5 separate regions of the Homo sapiens genome follow, and regions 1, 2, 3 and 5 are each linked to region 4. Evidence: promoter capture Hi-C in 16 types of primary human blood cells and fetal thymus (Javierre and others, 2016). All regions are on one chromosome and are shown on one strand. The core of a region is centred on a gene start or on the middle of the fragment in contact, and the rest is flanking DNA. Distances in the headings are between cores, read along the strand shown. Region 1 overlaps LOC101928391 (a long non-coding RNA gene). Region 2 holds the start of LOC101928391 (a long non-coding RNA gene). Region 3 overlaps AHDC1 (AT-hook DNA binding motif containing 1). Region 4 holds the start of TMEM222 (transmembrane protein 222). Region 5 overlaps AHDC1 (AT-hook DNA binding motif containing 1).

Evidence for each region. The method cuts DNA at HindIII sites, captures the fragments that hold promoters and counts their contacts. A CHiCAGO score of 5 or more calls a contact.
Region 1: a fragment that was not itself captured here is called in contact with the fragment with the promoter of TMEM222 in region 4 in 1 of 17 cell types (endothelial precursors); the score reaches 7.1 in endothelial precursors.
Region 2: a contact is called between a fragment that was not itself captured here and the fragment with the promoter of TMEM222 in region 4, in 2 of 17 cell types (endothelial precursors and M1 macrophages). The highest score is 5.8, in endothelial precursors.
Region 3: a fragment that was not itself captured here is called in contact with the fragment with the promoter of TMEM222 in region 4 in 2 of 17 cell types (naive B cells and M1 macrophages); the score reaches 5.6 in naive B cells.
Region 5: a fragment that was not itself captured here is called in contact with the fragment with the promoter of TMEM222 in region 4 in 4 of 17 cell types (M0 macrophages, endothelial precursors, M1 macrophages and 1 more); the score reaches 6.0 in M0 macrophages.

The regions. Positions count from the first base shown.
Region 1 is chr1:27,055,360-27,058,059 of GRCh38, reverse strand. All of the region lies in intron 5 of LOC101928391 (a long non-coding RNA gene), which reads right to left. Among named protein-coding and RNA genes, the nearest start is that of TENT5B, 44 kb to the right of the region's middle. RefSeq lists a silencer at 1-22. The HindIII fragment of the contact is 1,845 bases long and covers 379-2,223 here.
Region 2 is chr1:27,029,451-27,032,150 of GRCh38, reverse strand. It overlaps LOC101928391 (a long non-coding RNA gene), which reads right to left and starts at 393. Exons shown (of 8, transcript XR_007065559.1): 1 at 322-393. The HindIII fragment of the contact is 2,970 bases long and covers 1-2,700 here.
Region 3 is chr1:27,594,655-27,597,354 of GRCh38, reverse strand. The region is part of intron 3 of AHDC1 (AT-hook DNA binding motif containing 1); the gene reads left to right. Among named protein-coding and RNA genes, the nearest start is that of AHDC1, 8.1 kb to the left of the region's middle. RefSeq lists enhancers at 508-1,033, 1,034-1,559, 2,174-2,303. The HindIII fragment of the contact is 1,987 bases long and covers 285-2,271 here.
Region 4 is chr1:27,320,721-27,323,424 of GRCh38, reverse strand. It overlaps TMEM222 (transmembrane protein 222), which reads right to left and starts at 1,262. Exons shown (of 6, transcript NM_032125.3): 1 at 1,034-1,262. The coding sequence starts at 1,227. RefSeq lists enhancers at 207-753, 905-1,254, 754-1,301, 1,302-1,848. The HindIII fragment of the contact is 7,674 bases long and covers 1-2,704 here.
Region 5 is chr1:27,576,829-27,579,528 of GRCh38, reverse strand. The region is part of intron 3 of AHDC1 (AT-hook DNA binding motif containing 1); the gene reads left to right. Among named protein-coding and RNA genes, the nearest start is that of AHDC1, 26 kb to the left of the region's middle. The HindIII fragment of the contact is 2,136 bases long and covers 243-2,378 here.

The DNA.
Region 1 (2,700 bases), core at 52-2,551, 270 kb after region 4:
GAGACGTCCCAGTGCCACTTTCAGTCGTGTGCTGAGCCACTCTATAACTCTTCCAGGGACCCACAAATCTTAGTGAAATTCTGCTTACAGAGCAGTCTGGTATCCACGGTTTCTTGGGAGAAGAAACGGGCTGCATCCTACATTTGAGTCAATTCCAGGGCAGAAATAAAGGGAACAGCTGCTAGAATTCAGCAGAAGCCGGAAATCAGAGGCACACAATTGTAAGCCTGAGAAATTGCAGAAGCCTTGTGGAAAGTAAGGGATGGGGTCTGAGCCAACCTTATTTCAATCCCAGTGGGCTGGCGGACCCCAGCTACCAACCATGGGTTCTGCCTAGGGGCAGATATTTGCCCCCCCGCTTCCTTGCTAAAAGAAGCTTGTTTTGTTCTGGTGGGAGGACAATGTACTAATTACCCCCAGGTGGATGGTGACTGGGATATTTACATTTGATCCACTCCCCTCTGCTGGTAATTGGGTTGGGGAGAACCATGGGACCCTGTTCTGGCCAATGAGATAAGAGGGGGAGGCTGCTGGGGGCTTCTGGGAGGAATTTTCCTCCTCTTACAAAAAGAGATGTTTTAGGAGGACCCCTGTCCAAGCCTCCCTTCCTGAGATGCTGCCCGTGGCAAATGCAGCCACACAAAAGTGCAGGCTCCAGGGTCAAACCATCTGGGCTAAAAGCATGGCTCTGCCTCCGATTGGCTGTGTTGTCTTAAGCAGATTACTTGACCTTTCTGTACCTCGTGTTCCTCCTCTGCAAAATGAAAATAATTGGACTTTCTTCTCAGGGTGCTGTGAAAATCAAATGAGTGAATACACCTAAAATGCCCAGACAGTTCTAGCACATGATAAGTACTCAATATATAACAGCTGTTATTTAGTTGCTCTCTGTGGATATGATGCTTGGAGCCACGGTAGTCATCTTTCAACCATGAGGGCCTTGACTCAAAAATGGTCTACCCCAAGATATCTTAAGATAAAAGTCCTGTGGGGTTTTTTTGTTGTGTTTTTTTTTTTTTTTTTTTTTTTTTGAGACACTCTCACTCCATTGCAGAGGCTGGAGGCTGGACTGTAGTGGTGTGATCATGGCTCACTGCAGCCTTGACCTCCCAGGCTCAGACGATCCTCCTGCCTCAGCCTCCTGAGTAGCTGGGACCACAGGCACATACCACCGCACCTGGCTCATTTAAAAAAATTATTCGGAGAAGGCCGGGCACAGTGGCTCACGCCTGTAATCCCAGCACTTTGGGAGGCTGAGGCGGGCAGATCACGAGTTCAGGAGTTCAAGACCAGCCTGGCCAACATGAGGAAACCCCATCTCTACTAAAAATACAAAAATTAGCCAGGCGTGGTGGTATGTGCCTGTAGTCCCAGCTACTTGGGAGGCTGAGGCAGAAGAATCACTTGAACCCGGGAGGTGGAGGTTGCAGTGAGCCGAGATCGCACCACTGCGCTCCAGCCTGGGCAACAGAGCAAGCCTCTGTCTCCAAAAAAAAAAAAAAAAAAAAAATTATTTGTAAAGATAGAGGTCTCCTCTTATGTTGGCTAAGCTAGGAAACTCCCAACTCTTTAGACAACTTTTAGCTTAGTATTCTGTTACTTGCAGCCTAAATCTCCCTAACCAATTCATAGATAAAAACTTGATACTTATGATTGTTTTATGATAAGAAATTAAACCACCTAATCCATGGGATACTCATATTTACTGAGAACACTGCTGAGAACCCTGGAGGCAGATTACACAGCATTGACTGCTAGTCATCCTCAAATGCGTAGTTTCTCCTTCTCTCTTTAATAAATAGAATGGCCATATTTTAGCTGGGCACATGCTGCGTGGCTAGAAAGCACATTTCCCAGGCCGGGCCTGGTGGCTCACACCTGTAATCCCAGCACTTTGGGAGGCGGAGGCGGGTGGATCACTTGAGGTCAGGAGTTCAAGACTAGCCTGGCGAACATGATGAAACCCCGTCTCTACTAAAAATACAAAAAATTGGCCGGGTGTGGTGGCCAGTGCCTGTAATCCCAGCTACTTGGGAGGGTGAGGCAGGAGAATTGCTTAAACACAGGAGGCGGAGGTTGCAGTGAGCCGAGATCACGCCATTGCACTCCAGTCTGGGCGACGGAGCGAGCGAGACTCTTCATCTCAAAAAAAAGAAGAAGAAGAAGAAAGAAAGTACATTTCCCAGTTTCCCTTGCAACTAGGTGAAGCCATGGGCCCAAGCTTTAGCAAAGAAATATGAATCGAAGTGATACGTGCCAAAGGATTGGGTATTTTCCCACCTCACTCTTCTGTCTCTGTTTTTTTTTTTTTTGAAACAGGGTCTCACTCTGTCACCCAGGCTGGGGTGCAATGGTGTGATCACAGCTCACTGCAACCTCCACCTCCTGGACTCAAGCAATCCTCCTACCTCAGCCTCCGGAGTAGCTGGGACTAGAGGTGTGGGCCACCATACCCAGCTTATTTTATTTTATTTTATTTTTTTTGAGACGGAGTCTCACTCTGTCGCCCAGGCTGGAGTGCAGTGGTGCGATTTCGGCTCACTGCAACCTCCACCTCCCAGGTTCAAGCAATTCTCTGCCTCAGCCTCCAGAATAGCTGGTATTACAGGCCCCCACCACCACACCCAGCTAATTCTTGTATTTTTAGTAGAATCGGGGTTTCACCATCGTGGCCAGGCTAGTCTTGAACTTCTGCCCTCG
Region 2 (2,700 bases), core at 28-2,527, 290 kb after region 4:
AGTTGTTGTTGTTGTTAGGGGCTCATGTTTTGCCTTCCAGCGGCGCCGGGCGAGCAGATTAGCCTGGCCTCGTTCTCACGGTGGGAGACCTCCTCCGTCCTCCCCAGGAACCACGGCCCCTGCCCTGCCCAGATCAGCAATAGCCCTCCATAAGCCTCCCACCTGGAGGGAGGTGGCGGGCAGGGAACAGCCAGGTAACCGTGGGCTCCTCACTGCAAGGGCCCAGCTCAGATTGAAGGCAGAGGGAACGAGCGAGCGAGGAGGAAGTGGGGAGAGACGGAAGGAGGGGCAAGCGAATCAAAGCACTAGGGATTTACTCACCCAAGCAGGGACAGGGAAGGAGATGGGGCTAGCAGGGCGGGGGACGCCCATGCGCCGCCCCTTCAGAGGACAATTCCCGGGGCCTCACTCCCTCCCACTCTCTCCCTCCCCCGCGGCCCATTCCCGGTGCGACTCCTCCCGTGGGAACTGCTGTCGCTGCAGCGGGCGCCCTGCCACGTGGATGCCAGGAATCAGACTGGGCGGCTGCGGCAGGGCGGGCGCTTCCCTGGGCAGCGATCAGGGCAGGCCTGGGAGAGGGCTGACCCTCACTGGGGTCTGGGGAGAGGGCGGCTCTGGGCGGAAGGGCACCTCGGGAACTGGACGCCCTGGGCTTCGCAGCCCCTCAGATCTGCAGCCAAGGTCATCTTTTCCCAGCTTGAGGAGCAACAACTGGGCACCACCTGGGAGCAGGTTAGAAATGCAGGCTCTCAGGTCTAGCCCCAGACTTGCTGACTCAGAACCTGCACATTCCAAGGAATGTGCCCCAGGTGGCTCCCGGGCACTTTCAAATTTGAGAAGCCTTTTTTCTACAAGAGTAGGCCTGAGTATTTACAGGTTTAAAAAGACGCGGTGGCTCACGACTGTAATCCCAGCACTTCGGGAGGCCGAGGCCGGCTGATCACGAGGCCAAGAGATGGAGACCACCCTGGCCAACGTGGTGAAACCCCGTCTCTACTAAAAATACCAAAAAAAAAAAAAAAAAAAAAAAAATAGCTGGGCTTGGTGGCGTGCGCCTGTAGTCCTAGCTACTCGGGAGGCTGAGGCAGGGAGGATCGCTTGAACCCAGGAGGCAGAGGTTGCAGTGAGCCGAGATCGCGCCACTGCACTCCAGCCTGGTGACAGAGCAAGACTCCGTCTCAAAAAAAAAAAAAAAAAAAAAAAAAAAGACAGACAAGGCCAAGGCCAGGCACGGTGGCTCATGCTTGTAATCCCAGCACTTTGGGAGGCCGAGGAGGGCGGATCACTTGAGCCCAGGAATTCAAGACCAGCCTGGGCAACACTGTGAGACCCAGTCTCTACAAAAAAAAAAAAAAAAAAAAAAAAATTAGCCAGGTGTGGTGGCGTGCACCTGTAGTCTCAGCTACTGGTGAGGCTGAGGTGGGAGAATAGATTCAGCCCAGGAGGCAGAGGTTGCAGTAACCCTTGATTGAGCCACTACACTCTAGACTGGGCAACAGAGCGAGGCTCTGTCTCAAAATAAATAAATAAATAGGCTGGGCGCAGTGGCTCACGCCTGTAATCCTAGCACTTTGGGAGGCCGAGGCGCACCTGAGGTCAGGAGTTTAAGACCAGCGTAGCCAACATGGTGAAACCCCGTCTCTACTAAAAATACAAAAATTAGCCAGGCGTCGGCCAGGCGCGGTGGCTCACGCCTGTAATCCCAGCACTTTGGGAGGCCGAGGCGGACGGATCACAAGATCAGGAGATCAAGACCATCCTGGCTAACATAGTGAAACCCGTCTCCTCTACTAAAAATACAAAAAAAATTAGCCGGGCATGGTGGTGGGCGTCTGTAGTCCTAGCTACTCGAGAGGCTGAGGCAGGAGAATGGCGTGAACCCAGGAGGCGGAGCTTGCAGTGAGCCGAGATCACGCCACTGCACTCCAGCCTGGGCGACAGAGTGAGACTCCATCTTAAAAAAAAACAAAACAAAACAAAAGAAAAAAATTAGCCAGGCGTGGTGTCACATGCCTGTAATCCTAGCTACTTGGGAGGCTGAGGCAGGAGAATCACTTGAACCCGGGAGGAAGGGGTTGCAGTGAGCCAAGATCACGCCATTGCACACCAGCCTGGACAATAAGAGTGAATAAGAGTGAAACTCCATCTCAAAAAAAAAAAAAAATTAGTAGTGTATAAATAGACCACATAATCTATGAATTGTATTCCATTATAGGAAAGGGGCATTGCAAGATACTTGTTACAAAAGGGGGCGTGAGGCCTGCTGGGGCTGGGAACCCACTGAGGAACACTCACTCCTGTTTTCAATCAACAGCATGGCTCTGAGGAAACAGAAGCAGGAACTAAATGGCGCTTGAATCTGAGGAGCTTCTACCCTGGCAGGCGAGATGAGATAGAGACGCAAATCGCCACCTTCCTGAGCCTCAGTTTCTTCACCTGTGAAATGGGCTTTCTCACCACTCACCTCTGCCTGCCTCCCTGCAGGGTCGGATCAGATGGGCCGAACCAGCTTCTAGACAGGGAGGGGCTTCATGAGCCGCTCCACACCTGAGGGAAGGGAGATTGGAACATCTGCCCTGCTCACATCGTGCCAGGGACAGCTCAGGCTTCTGTGCCTATCTTGGTCTTCAGACTCCAGCCTCTGGCCCTGCAGATTCTCTCTCAGGGCCTCGTCTGCTTTCTCTGGTGTCCCTCTCTCTT
Region 3 (2,700 bases), core at 29-2,528, 270 kb before region 4:
ACACACACACACACACACAAATTTGTGACATGTAAATCTCCACCCTCACACTCATTCTGCATCTCACGAACATAGCTGGTGAACACGCACCTGTGCTTCCTTCCCTGTACAGGTGTTGACTCACAGGCCCTGTCATGGGACACCCTCCTACATACAGTGGCAGTCACACCAGAGCACACAGAACCTCCCCCTGCCACCTGCCCCCCACCCCCATACTCTAACCCGGCTGGCAAGGTGGGGAGGCAGAAGGTCCTCTCAGTCGGTGAGAGCCCTTCTGGAAAGCTTCAGGGCCTGACCTGGACACAGAGAAATGCCCAGTGGCTTGGGTAGTGGGGAGCTGTCTCAAAGGTGGTGAGGCATATGTGTATAAACATGTGCTTGCATGTGCAGGTAGAAGGGATGGCGAGTGTCCTCATGGAGTGTGAGAGAGACTGGGTGTATGTGAGATAGGGTACGGGTGTGACAGGGAGCTCCAAGGTGTGTGGAGTGTGTGGGTGTGTGTGTGAGAGTGACTTGTCAGGTATGTATGTGTGGATGCACGTTTATGTGATAGGTGTGTGTGTAAGATGGGTGTGTGTAACTGTGGGTTTTGCAGGGTGGGGTATGTGTGATGGGGGTACATATATGAAGGTTTAAGGGCATGGGGCAAACTGCATGTGTGAGCGTGCAGTGGCAGGCATGCATGTGGGAAGGTGTATGAGTGCGTGTGAGTGTAGGGACTATGCAGATATGAGGGTGTAGTTCAGGTGTGAGGCTGGGAGCCTGTTGCCTGGATTGGAGCAGTGTTTTCCAAGGCCTGAGTGCTACCTGAACAGGAACATCCAGCACAAGCACGTGGGAAGGGGCCCCCGGCCTGGAAGTTGGGCACTGACCCACACAGATGCACAAGGACAGACATACCCGCCCCTGTCCTCCCTCTTCCTCTCTTCTGGCGTCAGTGGTTTTTAAAGGAGCCTCCGTGAGGACTGTTTGCTGTGCAGTTCCCCCACCCCCAGCCTGTGTCTCTTCAAACGCAGTGCTGCCCTCCAGGCAGCTTTGTGGAGGCTCCTGCCTCGACCATCTGAAGGCAGATGGGTGGGCTTGGATCCGCTGCTGCCCCCCAGGGAGCGAGGAGGCAGCTCTGCTCCTTGGGCCTGGGCACAGGCTGAGACAGATGGACTGCCTGTCTCAACACCCCCGCACAGGCACCCCATACCATAGGGGTTCTAGCGGGTAGCCCCCAGTTAGGCCCCGGAGCAAAGGCCAGGATGCTGCCCTTCATTCTCCCAGAGGGGCATCCCCCCTAACACACACAAACCCTGCAGCCCCATCACCTCTCTGGGGTCCAGGGACTCAGTTACAGCTCCCAACACCTTCTAAATAGACAACTGCCCCACATACACACTCACAGCTCTAACACCTCTAAAACACAACTGCTCCACCTACAACACCCAGCCCACACACTTCCACACACACACTCTACATACAGATACCCCCCGACATCCAGCTACCTCACATGCACATACCCCCAAACACACAACCACCACATGCTTACCCACAACCTGCAACACCTCCCTGACACCAGGAACCTGGTTACAGCCCTCATACCTGTGCATGCACGGACGATAGCCTGTGGCACATCTCTGATATCAGAGACCCATTCTTCCCTTCCCACGTATGGAGGGACCTCAGGTCTCTAACGCCTCCCCAGACCCTTGCAGGTACCCAATTAAAATCCCAATAACCTTTCCAGAGACACTCCCCAGCTCCTCCCCAAAACCACAGTGCATCCTCCACCAACCACAACACCTTTCCAGGCACATGTTCACAGCCCTAGTACTTAACCAAAACCCACATTTTTATGACCCCCCAATACATCCCTAAACACCCCAACACACACACAATCACACACACACACACACACAGCTATCACACCCTCAGCATATCAACCCCCTATCCAACCCCAACACTGCCAGATACACCCAGGACCCAGCTACAGCCCTGCTACCTTCCCACTGACTCATACCCTCAAAGCCCTGACACCTCCCCAGACACACACACTCTGCCCACAGCCCCCAACGTTTCTCCCAGCTATAGCTCAGCACTTCCCCAAACACCGGTATCATCCCCTATACCTTTCCAAACATACAGCCTCCCCCTACAACACACATACACTCACTGCTTCAAACACCCACTCAAACAAGAACACCCTCTGTAGCCACAACATTTGCCTCAAACACACAGACATGGCTTCGGTTCTAGTATATCTCTAACAGATCAGGCCCCGAAGCTTCTAATACCTCCTGAAACTTGTGCACACTGCCTCCTGGATCCCGGCACCTCCTCGACAGGCAGTCCTAATGGCCCGGCCCCACCGCTTCCCAGACAGTCTCAGCTCCGGTACTTTTCCTCAGCCACCTAAGGGCCCAGGGACACCCCTACACCTCTCCAAACACCCCGATACCACACCTGTACACAAAGACAGCCTCAGCTAGTCACAACCCTGCACCCATTCTGTGCTCCGCCTGCACCCCACGGCACCCTGTCACATACCCCGCCTAATCCTTCTGCAGCCCTCACTCCCACCGTTGGCACATTCCAGCACACCCTCTCCCCCACCTTGTTCCCCTAGACAGCCTCAGCCTGTCACACACATTGCTCACTCTTGTGTGCTCTCGCTCTCTCTCTCTCTGCTGCCCAGGCCTCCCGCTCTTCCCAGAG
Region 4 (2,704 bases), core at 13-2,512:
AGTATTTTAACATAATTCAAAAACTACGATCTTTTTAGAATCAGCAACACCTAAGGCCCCAAATGATCCCTTCTCCACATCACCACTGGCTGTTATTGATAGCGGAACAAGCTATCCCATCAGGTGAGAGTGGATAAGATGTAGTGCAAAGAGCAAGTTAGATCAGAAGACTGAGCTCTTCATGCCTTTGCTTATTGGGGTGCGAACCTGATCAAGACACTTAATGCTACAAGCAGCTCAGCTTCACCATCTGAGAAGATAACCTACCTTAGAAAATGGATGTTTAATTCTGATAAAATGGGTGTTTAAGAGCTTGGCAAACTATCCAGCACGGTGAGGAGGGGTTACGTTTATCAGCTGTCAAGGTTGAAGCAGGAGGGCAAACCACCTCTCCCCATATGAGAGCTCCTCCCAAAAGGCGCCAAGTAGTACCAGAGCACCTGCTTCTCCCCTGACAAAGGCTGATGTTACAGAAAGAACTTTGGTCTGGGAGGCAGACAACCTGGGATCTAAACCCAGTTTGCAACTGAGATGGCACGTGAGACAAAGGGTTGGACTCTCAGATCTCTGGGGGCCCTTCCAATGTTGACATCCCAGGATCTCGTGTGGTCCCAACCAAACTCCCACTCTTGCTCCCAGACCCAGCAGTATGTCTGGAATATGGTAAGCGACCAGTAAGCATTTGCTCAATGAGAGAATAAACCAGTGAATTAATAAAAATGTCTCCTCAGATCCGATAAGGGGCTCCCTCTTCTACACACTCACAGCTCGAGTCTCCCAGCCACTTGCCCTTTCCTGCTGGCCTACAACTCTCTCCCTGGCTACACCAGGTGTATTGAGAGCAGGGAGCGTGTCCCAGCCGTGTGCACAAACTGGCACTACATGGATGGCGGGGTTCTGGTGACTGGGCGAGGCGTGCGGGCCAGACCCGAGGAAAAGGCTTGCTGCGCGTTGGGGCCGGAGGCTAGCCCGGCCCGACTCCGGCTCTCCCTGGGCCCTCCTCGTCCCCAGGCGGATGCCGGAAGAGACTCACGTGAGCACCGGGATGGGCGTCCACACCACGCAGTAGGGGAAGCGACTCCGTTCCACATCCATGGCGACGCCGCCGGAGCCTTGATATTGCTTCATGTCCGTCTCGGCCGCCGTCGGCGCCTCCACTTCCGCCATCCTGGGCGGGGGTGGCGGCGGCGGCAACAAGAGCAGAGAACTCCCTTCCGCTTCCGCCATGCGGCGCGCGCCCCGCTCCGACTGGCCCCGGCTCTGGTGCCGCTCGTCCCCATGGCGTCACTTCCCGGAGATGGGGTCCGCCCCGCTTGGCCTTCCCCCGGGAATCCGAGCCGCGTTCCTCTGGGCCCGGCCAGCCCCGCCCCACTCCCTATGCGCCTGCCAGCCCCGAGTCTTTGCCGCTTATGCCCCGCGGCTGCAGAAGGGATGCTCTCAGGCAGTTCGCAGTCTAGCGCCGGAGACTTATAGAGAACTCTAATTCAGTACGCTGAGGGCTCCTAGGAGGTGTGGTACAGTCGCTATTTATTGAGCACTTCTTAGGTGCCAAGCACTTGACATGAATTGTTTCTAATCCCCATAAACTAATTAGACATCCAAATTAGGTATTCCCTCCTGTTACAGGTGAGAAACTGAGGTTCAAAAGGTGAGAGACCACGATGCAAACCCAAGTCTTTTTTTTTTTTTTTTTTTCTGAGGCGGAATTTTTTCTCTTGTTGCCCAGGCTGGAGGGCAATGGCACAATCTCGGCTCACTGCAACCTCCACCTCCCAGGTTCAGGCGATCCTGCCTCGGCCTCCCGAGTAGCTGGGATAACAGGCGCGTGCCACCACGCCCGGCTAATTTTTGTATTTTTAGTAGAGGTGGCGTTTCACCATGTTAGCCAGGATGGTCTCAAACTCCTGACCCTGTGATCCGCCCGCCTTGGCCTCCCAAAGTGCTGGGATTACAGGCGTGAGCCACCGCGCCTGGCCCAAACCCAAGTCTTATACCTCCCTTGCCCTTTTCATTCTGTGGCCCTCTCACGAGGTAGTGGTAGCATAAAGGAAGACACACACAGTTGTGTGTGCGCACGTGTGTGTGTGTGTGTGTTTTATTGTATATACAGGGAAGACTTGCTGGAAGATAGGATATTATTGAGTTGAGTCTTGATGTTTGCCATGTGGCACAGGAGTGGAAGTATGAGTGCAGCGGTACAAAGAAAGGAAGGCCGTGCAGAGCAGTGTGTGCAAGAGTGTGAATACTTACTGGAGTAAATCATAAGCCTTAGATGTGATCCAATCCCTTCATTGTACAAATGGGAAAACGGGCTCAGGGAAGTTAATTGTTTGAGATCACACACAACCATAATTAGAGAGAAGCCAGGCTCAAATGTTGGAGACTTTTGGCTTTTTAAAGGATGTCAAGACAAAGAAAATGAAGTCTACTGGGGTCTACTGGGGTGGGGAGGGGAAGTTGGGGACAGCCCAAAGTCAGAAGGAAGGCTGCCACTAAAAATCAGCCTTAAAGAAAAAAAAAAAAGAATAAAAAGAGTAATCAGGTAAAGGAAGGTATGGACAAATGCACTCAGGAAGTTAGGAGCTTCCCATTTGGGGAAGGTCCTTCTTCCACTGAATTACCCTCCCTCAATGCTGATCTATGGAGAGCTTGCTGTCCTGTTTGTAGCACCTAATATTTTCATGTTTTTTTGTGGGGGATGTCT
Region 5 (2,700 bases), core at 61-2,560, 260 kb before region 4:
GTGATCTATAGTCACACTCTTGCTGGGATCTAGATATTGGGGATTGATGAACAAGAAATGCACTAAATAGTGTGTATAAAGCAGACTAAGCCATCATCTCTGGCTGAACCTAGATTCACGGAAAACTGGGGTGGGGTGGTGTGGGGTGGTGAGATTTAGACTAACACATAAGGCTGTGGTCTAGATATGAGAAAGTGAGTGAGCTAAAGTCACACAGATACGGATCCAGAGAAGGCAAAGCTTTAGTCCAAAGCCAGAACCCACAAGACCTAGAACACCAGCCTGGGCAACGTAGTGAGGCCCTGTCTCTACAAAAACGTTAAAAAGTTAGTTGGGCATGGTAGCATGTAGTCCCAGCTATGCAAGAGGCTGAGGTGGGAAGATTGAGCCCAGAAGATTGAGGCTGCAGTGAGCTGTGATTATACCGCTGCACTCTAGCCTGAGTGACAAAGCCAGACACTGTCTTAAAAAAAAAAAAAAAAAAGATTTAGAACAGGACTATCCAGTAGACACATAATAGAAGCCATATATGTGTCCGGGTGTGGTGGCTCACGCCTGTAATCCCAGCACTTTGGGAGGCCGAGGCAGGTGAATCACAAGGTCAGGAGTTCAAGACCAGCCTGGCCAACATAGTAAAACCCCGTCTCTACTAAAAATACAAAAAATTAGCTGGGCATGGTGGCAGGCACCTATAATCCCAGCTACTCGGGAGTCTGAGGCAGGAGAATCTCTTGAACCTGGGAGGTGGAGGTTGCAGTGAGCCGAGATAGCGCCATTTCACTCCAGCCTGTGCGACAGTGTAAGACTCCGTGTCAAAAAAAAAAAAGAGAAGCCACATATGTAATTTAAAATTTTCAAGTAGCCACATTAAACAAAGTAAAAAGACATAAAAGGAAGTAAGTGGAATTAATTTTAACAATTTATCTTTCTTTTTTTTTTTGAGAGGGAGTCTTGCTCTGTTGCCCTCACTGGAGTGCAGTGGCACAATCTCAGCTCACTGCAACCTCCACCTCCCGAGTTGAAGCGATTCTCCTGCCTCAGCCCCCCAAGTAGCTGGGATTACAGGTGCCCACCACCACACCCAGCTAATTTTTGTATTTTTTGTAGAGATGGGGTGTCACCGTGTTGGCCAGGCTGGTCTCGAACTCCTGACCTCAGGTGATCCACCCACCTCGGCCTCCCAAAGTGTGGGATTACAGGCATGAGCCACTGTGCCTGGCCCAACAATTTATCTTATATAACCCAATATATCCAAAGTACTAGCATTTTAATGTATAAGCCTTATAAAAATTATTAATGAGGTATTTTATATTTAAAAAATACATTAAGACTTCAGAATCTGGTGTATATTTTGTACTTACAGCACATTCCAGTTCTGACTAGCCACACTCACATGTGGCTAGTGGCTACCATGTTGGACAGCACAGATTTAGAAACAGGCTTTTCTTTGGGACCAGGGTCCAGAGGAGTTATGAGCCAGAATAATCTGGAACAAGTAGGGTTGTACTCGCCAGAGGTTACACCCTTAGCAGACTTGAACTGGGTGTAGTCTGACTGCCTGGGAGAACATCTGGGCTGTGGGCTGGGGAGTCAGGGGTTCCCTCCCCTGGAGTCTTAACTCCCTGGCCTCAGGTGGAATCTCTGTTGGGGCTCTGGCCTCTCAGGGTATTCAGTATCACCTCTGAGCACTGGCCCCCAGTTCCTGTCCCTTATCCCAGTGTCACCTCAGTCTTGTCTGGCCTGGCAGGTCAGGGGGAGGGGAGCAGGGTGGCAGCTGGACCCTTGAGAGAGCAGGAGCTCCACCCCTCCGAGCCAGCTGCTGCCAGCCTTCCTGGACTGACTCTGTGGAAACAGGGGGCCCAGAGACAGAAATAAACTGCCAGGTTTCCGGGGCGGAGTGGGGGGCCTGCCAGTCTTTGTGCTTCCTTGCTTGGGAGTGGGGGGAGCAGGAAGCAGCTCCAAGCCCTGTCCTAGGCTGTTCCCCCTGTATGCCATCTCCCCTCACCCCCAGATGCCCCTGCCCCCATGGCTCTGAGGCTAGGCTGAGTCTAGAATTTGATGGATTAGTGAAACCTAGGGGCCCATAGTCTGGGACTGACACTTGGGAGCAGAGAGTGGTCCTTAGGACTCTGGTCCCAGCTTGGTGCCCATTTCTAGAATCCTGTCCTGGGGGCCCCTCTAGCTGCCGCACGGCAGGAGCTGAACAGATTCAGAGGGCTGCAGTGGGGCAACCGACCAGGAGCTGAATGATTTGTATTGGATGCCCACGTCTGTCATTCACTGGCCAAAGGCAATTTTCTTTCCTCATTTATGATCCTATCCCCGGGTCTCAGGAGGGATGACTGTGTCCTCCCATCCCTTCCTCTTGGGCCTAAGCTTCCCCATCCGTTGTGGGATTTGGACTGTGAGCTACTGGAGAGGGAGTGAGGGACAGGGACAGAGTAGCCAGGAAGAATGTTGAGGGATGCTGTCTGAAGCTGCTGGCTTTGTGACAGGGGCGCTGTCACCAGTGCAAGGTAGGGTACTGGTCTCTGTGTTCATGTCATGACGGTGGGTGCTGGCGTTGGGGGGTGTGGGCAGGCGGTGAGCACTGGGATGCACTGTATATATGTGTGTGTGTGAGGTGCTAGACTCAGGATGGCCAGTGCCTAGACAGGGCCAGGGTCACGGGTCACCACATGCCCAAAAGCAGCCTCCACT